Regions from separate parts of the Homo sapiens genome. Here region 2 is linked to region 1. Evidence: promoter capture Hi-C in 16 types of primary human blood cells and fetal thymus (Javierre and others, 2016). All regions are on one chromosome and are shown on one strand. The core of a region is centred on a gene start or on the middle of the fragment in contact, and the rest is flanking DNA. Distances in the headings are between cores, read along the strand shown. Region 1 holds the start of GUCY1B1 (guanylate cyclase 1 soluble subunit beta 1). Region 2 has its middle 83 kb from the start of GUCY1A1.

What was found. The method cuts DNA at HindIII sites, captures the fragments that hold promoters and counts their contacts. A CHiCAGO score of 5 or more calls a contact.
Region 2: a contact is called between a fragment that was not itself captured here and the fragment with the promoter of GUCY1B1 in region 1, in 1 of 17 cell types (M2 macrophages). The highest score is 5.8, in M2 macrophages.

What each region holds. Positions count from the first base shown.
Region 1 is chr4:155,756,470-155,761,904 of GRCh38, forward strand. It overlaps GUCY1B1 (guanylate cyclase 1 soluble subunit beta 1), which reads left to right and starts at 2,552. Exons shown (of 14, transcript NM_000857.5): 1 at 2,552-2,674; 2 at 3,318-3,391. The coding sequence starts at 2,672. It overlaps LOC105377506 (a long non-coding RNA gene), which reads right to left and starts at 1,946. Exons shown (of 8, transcript XR_007058484.1): 1 at 1,721-1,946. RefSeq lists silencers at 2,730-2,879, 3,330-3,599. The HindIII fragment of the contact is 7,462 bases long and covers 1-5,435 here.
Region 2 is chr4:155,581,623-155,587,057 of GRCh38, forward strand. No RefSeq gene overlaps it. Among named protein-coding and RNA genes, the nearest start is that of GUCY1A1, 83 kb to the right of the region's middle. The HindIII fragment of the contact is 5,564 bases long and covers 1-5,314 here.

The DNA of each region.
Region 1 (5,435 bases), core at 1,302-3,801:
TTCAATCTCCTTATCTTTTGCCTATGTAAAGTTTAAGGTGGAGGACACCACAACACACCGTAAACCAGAGAGCATGGGTCCATTGCTGCTCAAAGGTGAACAGATAAGAGACATAGTTTTTTTTTTTAAGTTTTTTTAGCAAGTTAAAAGTTATTTTATGTATATTATTAAAAAGTCAAATAACAACAGATTCTGGCAAGGTTATAGAGAAAAGGGAACTCTTATATAGTGCTGGTGAGAATGTAAATTAGTTCAGCCATTGTGGAAAGCAGTTTGGTGATTTCGCAAAGAACTTAAAACAGAAACATCATTTGACCCAGCAATCTCATTATTGAGTATATACCCAAAGGAGTATAAATCATTCTACCATAAAGGCACATGCATGCATATACGTTCATCACAGCACTAGTCACATGGAATGAAATAAACTATTCACAAAATGAATACTTGTGAATATATGTGAATTAATATGTGAATTCACTATATGCAAAGACATGGACTCAATCTAGATGTCCATCAGTGGTAGACTGGATAGAGAATGTGGTACATATATACCATGGAATACTATGCAGACATCAAAAAGAATGAGATCATGTCCTTTGCATCAACATGGACGGAGCTGGAGACTATTATCCTATGTAAATTAACAGAAACAGAAAACCAAATACCACATGTTCTCACTTGCAAGTGGGAGCTAAACACGGAGTACACATGAACACAAAGAAGGGGACAATGACCACTGGGGCCTACTTGAGGATGGAAGGTGGGAAGAGGGTGAGGATCAAAAAACTATTTGTTGGGTACCATGCTTAGTGCTTGGGTGACAAAGTAATCTGTACACCAAACCCCCAAGACATGTAATTGGCCTATATAACAAACCTGCATATGTGCCCCTGAAACTAAAATAAAAGTTAAAAAAAATTCAGTTATGTAACAGTAAAGAAAATTCATCTGTGTAGAAAAATAATCAAAAGATACAGAAAGTTATAAAAAGTAAGAGTCATGGCCATTCCAGCCACTGGTTCTAATTACAGACGATAGCCATATCAACACTTCCTGTGTTTCCTCCCAAACCATTATTCTTACAGCAACATGTATGTGCCTGTGTTATTACCCACATAGCACCTTACTGTATACTAACTCTAAAAAATGGAAAATGATTACATTCTTGTGGTGTTTTGTAAACCTGACAATACTTTTCTGCATCATCATTTTCTAGTCACCCTCCTGCTTTTTCATGGTTGTTTAATGTGCCATTTTAATGGTTCAAAATTAGTGGTTAATTGTTGTTAAATAATGATTAATGTTTTAATAGTTGTTTAAAACAAGGTGTTAGATTGTATGAAAGGCTGTAATCTATTTACTCATTCCACCAATAATGGAAATTTTTAAAGTAATTTGTTGTTTTGTTTGTTTGCTACATGCCACTATTTCTGTATCAGTTTCCTTCATCATAGCTCTCTCGGTGCTGATGTCAGCACAATCTTATTGTTTTGACATTTTTCTCTAACCATATTGAGACTGTTCTCACAACAAAATATGCACATCTTAAAATACCATCTGGCTTCTCAGGTCCACTTGAGACTGGTGACCTCACTTTTGACCTTGCCCTAAAAGTCAACTGGAGTCCATATACCTCAGGTACAAACAGCTTTAATAAGCTGCCACTTCCTGTTCCTCTCATCTTCTCTCTATGGCAGGACTCAGAGCATTAACTAACCTAAGGGCCTGGTAGAATGTAAGCTGGAGGTAGAGTAGTTAAAGTCTGTGCATTTTGTACTGGTCATTTTCCAGTTCGTCTGTTGCTAAGAAACAGCAACAGAGGCCCGCTCTAGAGGGTTACAAACTCCCTGGAATTATGGCTCCCGGACATGGTGTAGGGAAAGGTGTCCCACAGGGATCAAGCCTAGAATATCGCTGGATCTTGTACAGTTTAGTAAAGGGCAGGACTGGATTTAACATAACGTCCACCAAACTACATTACTGAAAATTTTTGGTGCTTCACTCAACTAGTCTCATTGACTAGAAGTGAAAATATGTTTTTCTCAATATTACCAGCTTTAAATTTGCCATAAACTGTTGTGGGACCAAGCCACAGAGGAAATGTTTTTCCGCTAGACAAAGATAAGCATGAGGATGCCAGCAACAGAGGATATTCCTTTTAAGGTCTGTCCATTGCAAAGTACACACGTACACGCTCACACAACAAACACGCCCTGTTCCCTTTTGCTTGTGTTAACCACTGAGGGCAGATCTCTGAATAATAATACATTTAGTGGGTCCACAAGAGCTGCATTTCCTCTGCTCCAGAATTCATGCAAGGAGCACGGCTGGGGCTTCTCCACTGTCATTGTTATGGCCTCAAATGAAGGCCTTGTCACCAGGCGGGGGCGGGAAGGCACTGGAGCGCAGCAGCATTGAGAGCATCCGAATTCCCTCCTCTGTCCCTGATTGGTTGAAGAACTGGGGAGCACCGACCAGCCCCCTGCGGCTCGACTCGCCATTGGCTGGGAAGAGGTGGCAATCAGGGCGGGCCAAGGCGGCTGTTCTCGCTCCAGCTCGATGCTGCCTCCCCGGCCCGGTTGCGCTGTAGCCGCTGCCGCCTCTGCCTGGGTCCCTTCGGCCGTACCTCTGCGTGGGGGCTGCCTCCCCGGCTCCCGGTGCAGACACCATGGTAAGTGCTCTCAGCCGGGTGCGGCCCGAACCTCACCCCTCCTCGGCCGGCCTGGCAGCGAGGGAACTGGCCGCGCAGCCGGAGCTTGGCTCGGGGGCCCTGGGCGCTCACTGCCGGCCACGGGAGCAGCCTCACTCCTTGCCCGCGCCCAGTCAGGGGAGGTGGGAACGCCGCGAGTCGTGGCGGGGGCGATCGGTGCCTTTGCTTCCCAGGCGGGTTTGCCGCTCCACACCGCAGCTTCCTGAGCTCGGGAAGGGGAGGTGCGGCGGAGGCGTGGGGTCTTCCCGGCTCTGGCCGGCCCCACCAGTGTGGGAGGCTGAGCGCCAGCGGAAGGGAAGGCTCCGGGTTCGCGTCCCCGCGCTGCCCCCGATGCCCAGCCTCTCCCGGAGCGGTGACAGGTGAGGAGGGTGGGAAGATAGCGTGGGGGTGGGGCGGATGGTGACGGGGAGAATCCACCAGGGATTGGGGGGTTGCGCCCCCACGATCCGACTCCTTTAGTGCATAGTACCCCTAAGGGAGAGGAGTCAGGGGCGGGGTGAAAGGTTAAGCCAGCGCCATGGGAGCAGAGGCAGCAGCCTCGCCCCCAAGCCGCTTCTCAGGTACAGCGGGTCCCTGACGCTCAAGTCTCTCCCTGTCCCCGCAGTACGGATTTGTGAATCACGCCCTGGAGTTGCTGGTGATCCGCAATTACGGCCCCGAGGTGTGGGAAGACATCAAGTAAGTGGCCGGCTACCCTGGCTGTGGCCCAGGTCGGCGCCCAGTGTGGGAGGCCCCCCGCGCCTCGCCTGGTCCTCAGCCTGCTGGCCGGGTCGCGGGCGCGCATCCTTGGAGGTGCCTCCGCGCCTCGCTCCCGGCTCGCTGCAGCTGCGCTCCCACGCTCCGGGACTGGAACCAGGAGGGGAGGGGCGGCTGGGGCGGGGCTGCGAGGGCGAGAACCGCGGAAAGGAGCCCCTAGGGGTCACCACGGCTTCCCGACCCGGCCTGAGCGTGGGAACGCGCTGCCGGCGCTCCCAGGCTCAGCAGGCCGGGCAGCTCCCACGCGTGCAGAGCCCCGAGGGACCACACGGGCCTCCGCGAGGTTCCTGCGCCCGGAGGCCTTAGAAACAAACGGAAGACTTTGGCTCCTTTATGATTTACACACCTGGCGTAAGTTAGGCCTTTTTGGTATGCTGAAACACGCGGGAGATTATTTCTTGAGCAACAGTGAATTAAGCGCATTTATTCATTTTTAAATAAAGTGAAAATTGGAAGTTTTTTGTTTTCCCCAAATCCCACTGCCCACCCCCCCCGCCCCAACCCCTATCCCCCGTTTTTTTCTACTGTGTTGAAGACTTAACAGTTCTAGGAGGCATTCTACTTTCAGTCCTGGAGCTTTGAGCCCAGTACTGGGGATGTGAACGGAAATACCACACCCACCTGAGAGTTTAAACCTGTTGGAATGACTGATGGGTCAGCATGTCTGCAGGCAGGTTGACTATTTCACTCTAATAAAGTTGTCTCTCCTTTTTCCTCTCACTCTCAAAAAATTTGCATTTAACTTATGGTACAGCTGACCACCACCAACTAGCTACTCCAAAACCCTATTTATGGATTTTCATATTAGAGCAACAGTCAGACTATCACATTGTAACAAAGGTGGAAGGAAGGGTTTCCTGGGTGGGCAGATGGGAATACACTGTTATTATTCACTCTGATTTCCTGTACTTAGTGATTTCATTTTGTTGTCTCAGGTAGGTGAGGCTTCCATGCTGTTTTTCCCTAAGCACATTACAATTATTAGCAATCAATTCTAACAGGCCTTATTATGCAGTTACATGATGGTGATTTCTCATAACGATCTGTTTCCATAGAAATGACCAGGGTTATATATTAAGCACGAAAATGTAACTTTTCTTTCCCCTGGATCTGTATCACTGAGCGTTTCTTTCATGTTTCAGAAACCATTTGTATTATCCACAGGGCATATTACCTACATATTATAAACAGAAGCCGAGATTTGGCAAGTATGTGGTTGAATCCAATGAGAACATAGGCACCAAAAGTTACTTTAGGATTTGAATTTTCTGGCCATCTTAATACCATTATAATTTTTATTTTGCTTAGTAGACAGATATCAACAAGGCAGACATCAAAAAAAGATTGTTAACAGTATAACTTAACTACCGAATTATTTTTAAGCCACTTCCTTTGTAAATTTATAAATGCTATATATATATATATTCTCCATATGATGCTTTTGCATCTGTAAGATAGAAATTCCCAAATTTGCTGGTAGATATGCTATGACAATGAATATGCTTAGAATTTTTAGAGCAGAATAAAAGATGGCTATTATGATTAAACAGTCATTATGTAATTTAACCAGATTTAGATTGTATATCCTAGCCATTATCAGTTTAGATCACTGTTAAATACAGAGATGAAAAATAATACTTTATAGAGTAATGTATCAGACATTTTAAAAAGTTAAAATTATCCAGAGATTTGTTTATATTGCTTATATTTTCCCAGAGGAAGTCCAAATATGTAAAGATTCAATTGACGAGAATTTAACTCTGCAAAATCAAGCTGAGAATATTGTTCCATTCTACTTTAAAAAATTATTTATTAACTTACTAATTTATCTTTAAGTAGCTTCCAACAGTATTCATAATTTGTCTAAAGGATAAAAATTCCAATCATCCACAACACAATTTTTCTGGTAAAAATGAAACAAGTTATATTGGTCTTTTCTTAAATAAAATTGCCTCAAGGTTATGCC
Region 2 (5,435 bases), core at 1,283-3,782, 170 kb before region 1:
GAAAACTCAGATGACTGTTAGCAGTTTTTAGCAATAAAGTATTTTTGGTTAAGATATGTCCATTTTTTTAAGATTTAATGCCATTGTGCACTGAATAGATTATAGTATAAATATAACTTATATGTGCACTGGCAAACAAAATTACTGCGATTTGCTTTATTGCAATATTAGCCTTATTGGAGTGGTCTAGAACTGAATCCACAATAGTACTGAAGTTGCCTGTAAGTATGCCATGAATTAATGAATGACCTAGACATTAATGAATAAAGCAACAATAAGAAATTCATTAAATTCACTCAAAAATCTTAAGTAACTATTGTTTAAAATATTGTCATGAAGGCAGGACAAAAGATACTATGAAAATGATAACTATTATTGTTATAAAATCTACAGGCCTCTTCCATGAACACATTATCCAGTCTCTCCCTCTTAATGCCCTAATTTTCTTTGTTAAAATATTTATTTTTCAATGTTATTTTAAACTTATTTATAATAAGCAAAATGTGAGAGTTTATCATTGTTTGTAGAAAGAAAGAAGTGCCTATAAACCATGCTTCTAACATTAACTCTTTGACCTTGTGAAAAGGGAATTCTCATGACTAATTAGTATGCACATCATCTGGAGGAGGCAAATAAAATTGTGCAGGCTGCTGTAGCAGATTGCTGTGCATAAAGGCCATTAGCTTCTAGGAAAGGATAGATTTTTCCAGTGTACCCAGGTAAAAAATATTTTTCAAACCTTGATAACTTCATCCTTTTATTCGACCTAGAGCCCATTTACCTCAAAAGTGTGTGAACCCCACCTCACAACCCCTCTCCGGAATTAATTGGGTATTCACAAGTGTTATTAAATTGATTGAATATATAGATCTTTTTCAAATGTCCTAGACAATTACATACTTTAATACCTTTGTTTTAATTTAAAATGAATTCTGTTTTTACTCATTTCCAGAGCAACCCAAGGTAACCAAAATAAATATAGGATAATAGTAATTGAATAAGAGAAAAATACATATCACTCCACTTATCTAGTGATAAACACCAGTATCACCATTGTGTAAATGTTTATAACTTCCTCCATTTTATCTGTTATGTTTGCATATTTTGCATTTCTTAATCAATTTTTAATTTTTAAAATTTTCATCTTTTTTTACTCTTATACAGATAAAATTATTTTATTTTTCATAACCATTTATGTTGACACATAACACACATACACGATACATATATTAGTTTATTTTATCAATCTTTATTTCTTGACATAGAACTTGTTTTCCACTTTTCATAATGTCACAAAATTCTCATCTAAATCCTGCACATATTTCTGACTAATCCCTCAGGATAAGAAACCAGAACTTAATAGCCAAGATTTTATACATTTTCAGGCATGTGATATCATTGCTAGGTTGTCCTCCAAAAGTGTTGTAATAGTATATGCTCCCCACCTACACTGTATGACATCATCACTTCCTGAAGCTAAACCAAGGAGATGTTATCATGTAACATGCAAAGGTTAACTGAGTTGGAATTATGTACTAATTATGATGAAAGATAATTTCTCAGAATTTCCTTAGAAAAATAGTCTTCTGTGCTTGGAAAAGGGGAAGACAGTGGCAGGAGTTTAACTTCTGACTTCGTTTGGAGGATGTTTGATTACAATGCTCTTGACTCAGAAACATAAATTGCCACAAAAGACCTTCTGTTGGCCATTAAACTGCAGAGCACAGGCAGGAAACTACGTAGCATGTCAGGCTTTTGTTTATTTAACACCGTCGGTGAGATGTACTTAGCAGTTATTATCTGCTCAGTGCTCTTCTAGGCATGAAAGCAAGGGGGAAAAATGTAGGTATGTTTCTTATTCTCAAGAATTTTATTAATTGAAGAGAAAAAATATATATGGCAGCCAAACAAGGAAATATTTGAAAAGTAACAATTGAGTTGCATGAATCAGTATAAGTTATAGTAGTCTGAGGAGAAGAGAAAACTTTGGCTTCCTTAATAAGCAATTTATGAGAAAAAATATGTAGTTTCAACACGAGATTGAAGAATGATGTAGAGGATTACAACAGGGAAAAAAGTAATACAATCTAAACAATCATAAAATGAAAGTGAGCATGGCACAACTAATTTTCACTAGATCCATTGGACAGGAATGGAAAGATTATATTGGCAAGTGTAGAAGATAATGTGGTAAGTTTTCTTAGGACAAGATAAAAACGTGCTGGATTCTAGGATAAGAAATAACTTATAAATTCAATTAAGTCAACTGAAAGTTTCTGTTTAGGGAAATAAAATGAAAAAGTCATGATTCATTTGTTCATGCAGGCATGCATAACTAATATATATTGAAAACTTGGCTGGGCTGAGGGCTCACGCTTGTAATCCCAGCACTTTGGGAGGCCAAGGCGGGGTGGATCACATGAGGTCAGAAGTTCGAGACCAGCCTGGCCAACATGGCAAAACATCGTCTCTACCAAAAATACAAAAATTAGCCGGGCGTGGTGGCATGGGTCTGTAGTCCCAGCTACCTCGGAGGCTGAGGCAGGAGAATCGCTTGAATCCGGGAGGCAGAGGTTGCAGTGAGCCGAGATCGCACCACTGCACTCCAGCTTAGGTAACAGAGGGAGACTCTGTCTCAAATAATGATAATGATAATGATAATGATAATGATAATGATAATGATAATGAAAATAAAAACCTACTATGAACTAACTAAACATTAGGACAAGAGAGTTATCTTCTTTTTTAAAGGTTTGTACTCAGAAAGCCCATGGTTTAGGCAAAATTATGCACTGAAATATTAACTTGTTGGTTTTTTGTGTATTTGTTTTTGCTGCTGAAAAATTAGAGATGAAAGCTCCTATGGGAAAGCTCCTTTTGCCTTGAAGCTCATTCTCTTAGTTCATTTGTGCTGCTAAACCAAAATACTTTGGATAATTTATAACAAAACAGAAATGAATCTTCTCACAGTTACAGAGACTGAGAAGTCCAAGAGGGAATTAGCAGATTCAGTGTCTGGCAAGGGCTCCTCTCCCTTACTGTATCCTCTCATGGTGGAAGGGGCTAAAAAGGGACAAGCACACTCCCTTTGACTACTTTTAGAAAGTACTCATCAATTCATGAGGGCAAAGCCCTCATTGTTAAATCACTTCCCCAAAAGCCCCACCTCTTCATACCATCACTTCAGGGTCTAAATTCCAACATATGAATTTTGGAGGAGCACATACATTGAGACCACAGCACTCACAATAGAAGAAAAAGTAATTTCTCCGTGGGGTAGGATTGGAGCCCCTTCTAGACTCTGTCTTTTGAAACCAGCCTGTCACATCCTCTACCCATTCATGTTCTGACCTTCTCTCAGGGGGCTCTGTCCCTTCTGAGGAGACCTGAAGTTGTCCAGTATGCTGGTTACTAAGTGGATGAATAGGTCTAATTGTCAAGATGTAAAGTATTTACTAGTGCATTTGGCCACACATCTAAAACCACCTCTCCAATCAGCTTTATCAGTAATACAGCTGGCCTAATGATCTCTCTCTTGGTAATCTCTGTCTACCTCTCAAATAATTCTGAAATAATGAGGAGAAGAAAGGAATTATTTGCCACTCTCACAAAAGAGCTAAATTTTATTGTGTAGATAACAGTTAAATGTACCTAAAAAACATTTTCTGTTTCTACCTACCTTTTATATTCTTAAAGCCTGAACTCTTGAGGATATTTTACAAGTAAGGACAAGAGAATCCACATGTACTTTGAATATGGGAAGGCTCAAACTTGGAGAGTAATGATGAGGTTCCTTATGTCTGGATGGAGACTAGGTCCATGGGACTTTTGGTATTGTAGATCTATGTCCAGCTCCCTTGCAGCACCCTGGTGGATTAGCAAAACCTGGAGGAATGACTGAGCGGTGCATCTCACAAGCCTCAACACTCAGCTCAGTGTTTCCAGCTTCACCAGCATCCAGTAGCCAGCGCTGGCTACAAAGATGCTGAGTTCCTAGATTTAAGTGGAATGACCACACATGTGAGTTTCCCTGCAACGGTCCAGATTTTTGTGTTATTCTGTCATAATTTTACTTGCACCCTATTATACTCTTCTAGTTTGGTTGATAAGTTATGCAATTGCCCTTAAAACTTTCAAGAGACAAGGTGGAGCTTTGCAATGAGGATTCAAATAGTGAACAGCGTAGGCAGCACCAAATGAATTAGAAGATATCCCTCAGTCACACCTCAAGTAAATGGAAGCACCTCAAATGAGACCTAAGAATGGCTTTTTTTCAGGCGATACAGTCAGATCTTGTTTTCCTTCACTGGTTTCTAAATCTTTGCCTTCCTAGTTTGCCATGCAGGTCATGCTTCAAATTCTTCCAAAATATCATGGACAGATTTCTCACCCTGACCTACAAGTTCAATAAAACCAGGGAATACCTAGGGATGTTTTATTCAATAAATCACATGCATCTCTTTTATCACACAATGTCTTCTACCACTATTCCCCTTGTTCACTTCCCTTTGGCCACATTGGCCTTCTCAATGTTCCTTGACTTCTCAGTCAAGCCCCTACCTGAGGGCTTTTGCCTTTGATGTTTCCTCTTCCTGTAATGCTTTTCTCTCAGATATATGTGTATCTTACTCCCTCATTTCATGAAGTTATCTGCTGAAATGTCACCTTATCACTGAGCCCTTCCATGACAATTCTTTAGGAAAGAGGAAGCAGTATCCATGCTGCCCCTCTCCCTCTTCCCCACTACCTGGTCCCTTACTGTGCTTTATTTTTTCCCACAGCTCTTAATAATTATTGGCATATGATATATTTACTTATATGTTTGATTAACCCTTTTCTCTAGCTATAAAATAAGTTTCAAGAAGGCAGGGACTTATTTTCCTGGCTATATCTCTAGCTCCTTCAATAGTGCTTAGCACATAGTTGGCTTGCAATAAATATGTGCTTAGTTTAAAAAGATGGGTAACAGTCATGGAAATCCAGTCACTGACTAGGAAGGCAAATATTTAGGCCACCAGAGAGCTATTGGTCTCACTCATAAAGATATCATACCTTGTGTCTTTCTTGTTTAAACCTCAGTTTTTAAACTTTGTAATAACTTGAAAATATTCTTTCATGGTGTTAGGAATTATGCTTTTATTTACCTTATCTTTGGTAATCCTATCTATTCATATACCCTTTTTATAAATGTTATCTTTCTAAAGGAAGAAAAAAATCAAATATTCAAAGTCAGTGCTTTTGCAAGATTTTATAGGCACCAGCCATTGTAGGCATAATTTTTTCATATCTTGAATAAATACTAGGATGCCTTAGAAGCTTCTGGAGGAAGCTGACTACTTAAATGTCAGTTATCCAAGTACAACAACAAAAACGAAGTCCATGGTAATTTCAAGCCACATAACAGTGAGTCGGGATATCTTCATTGAACCCAGGCT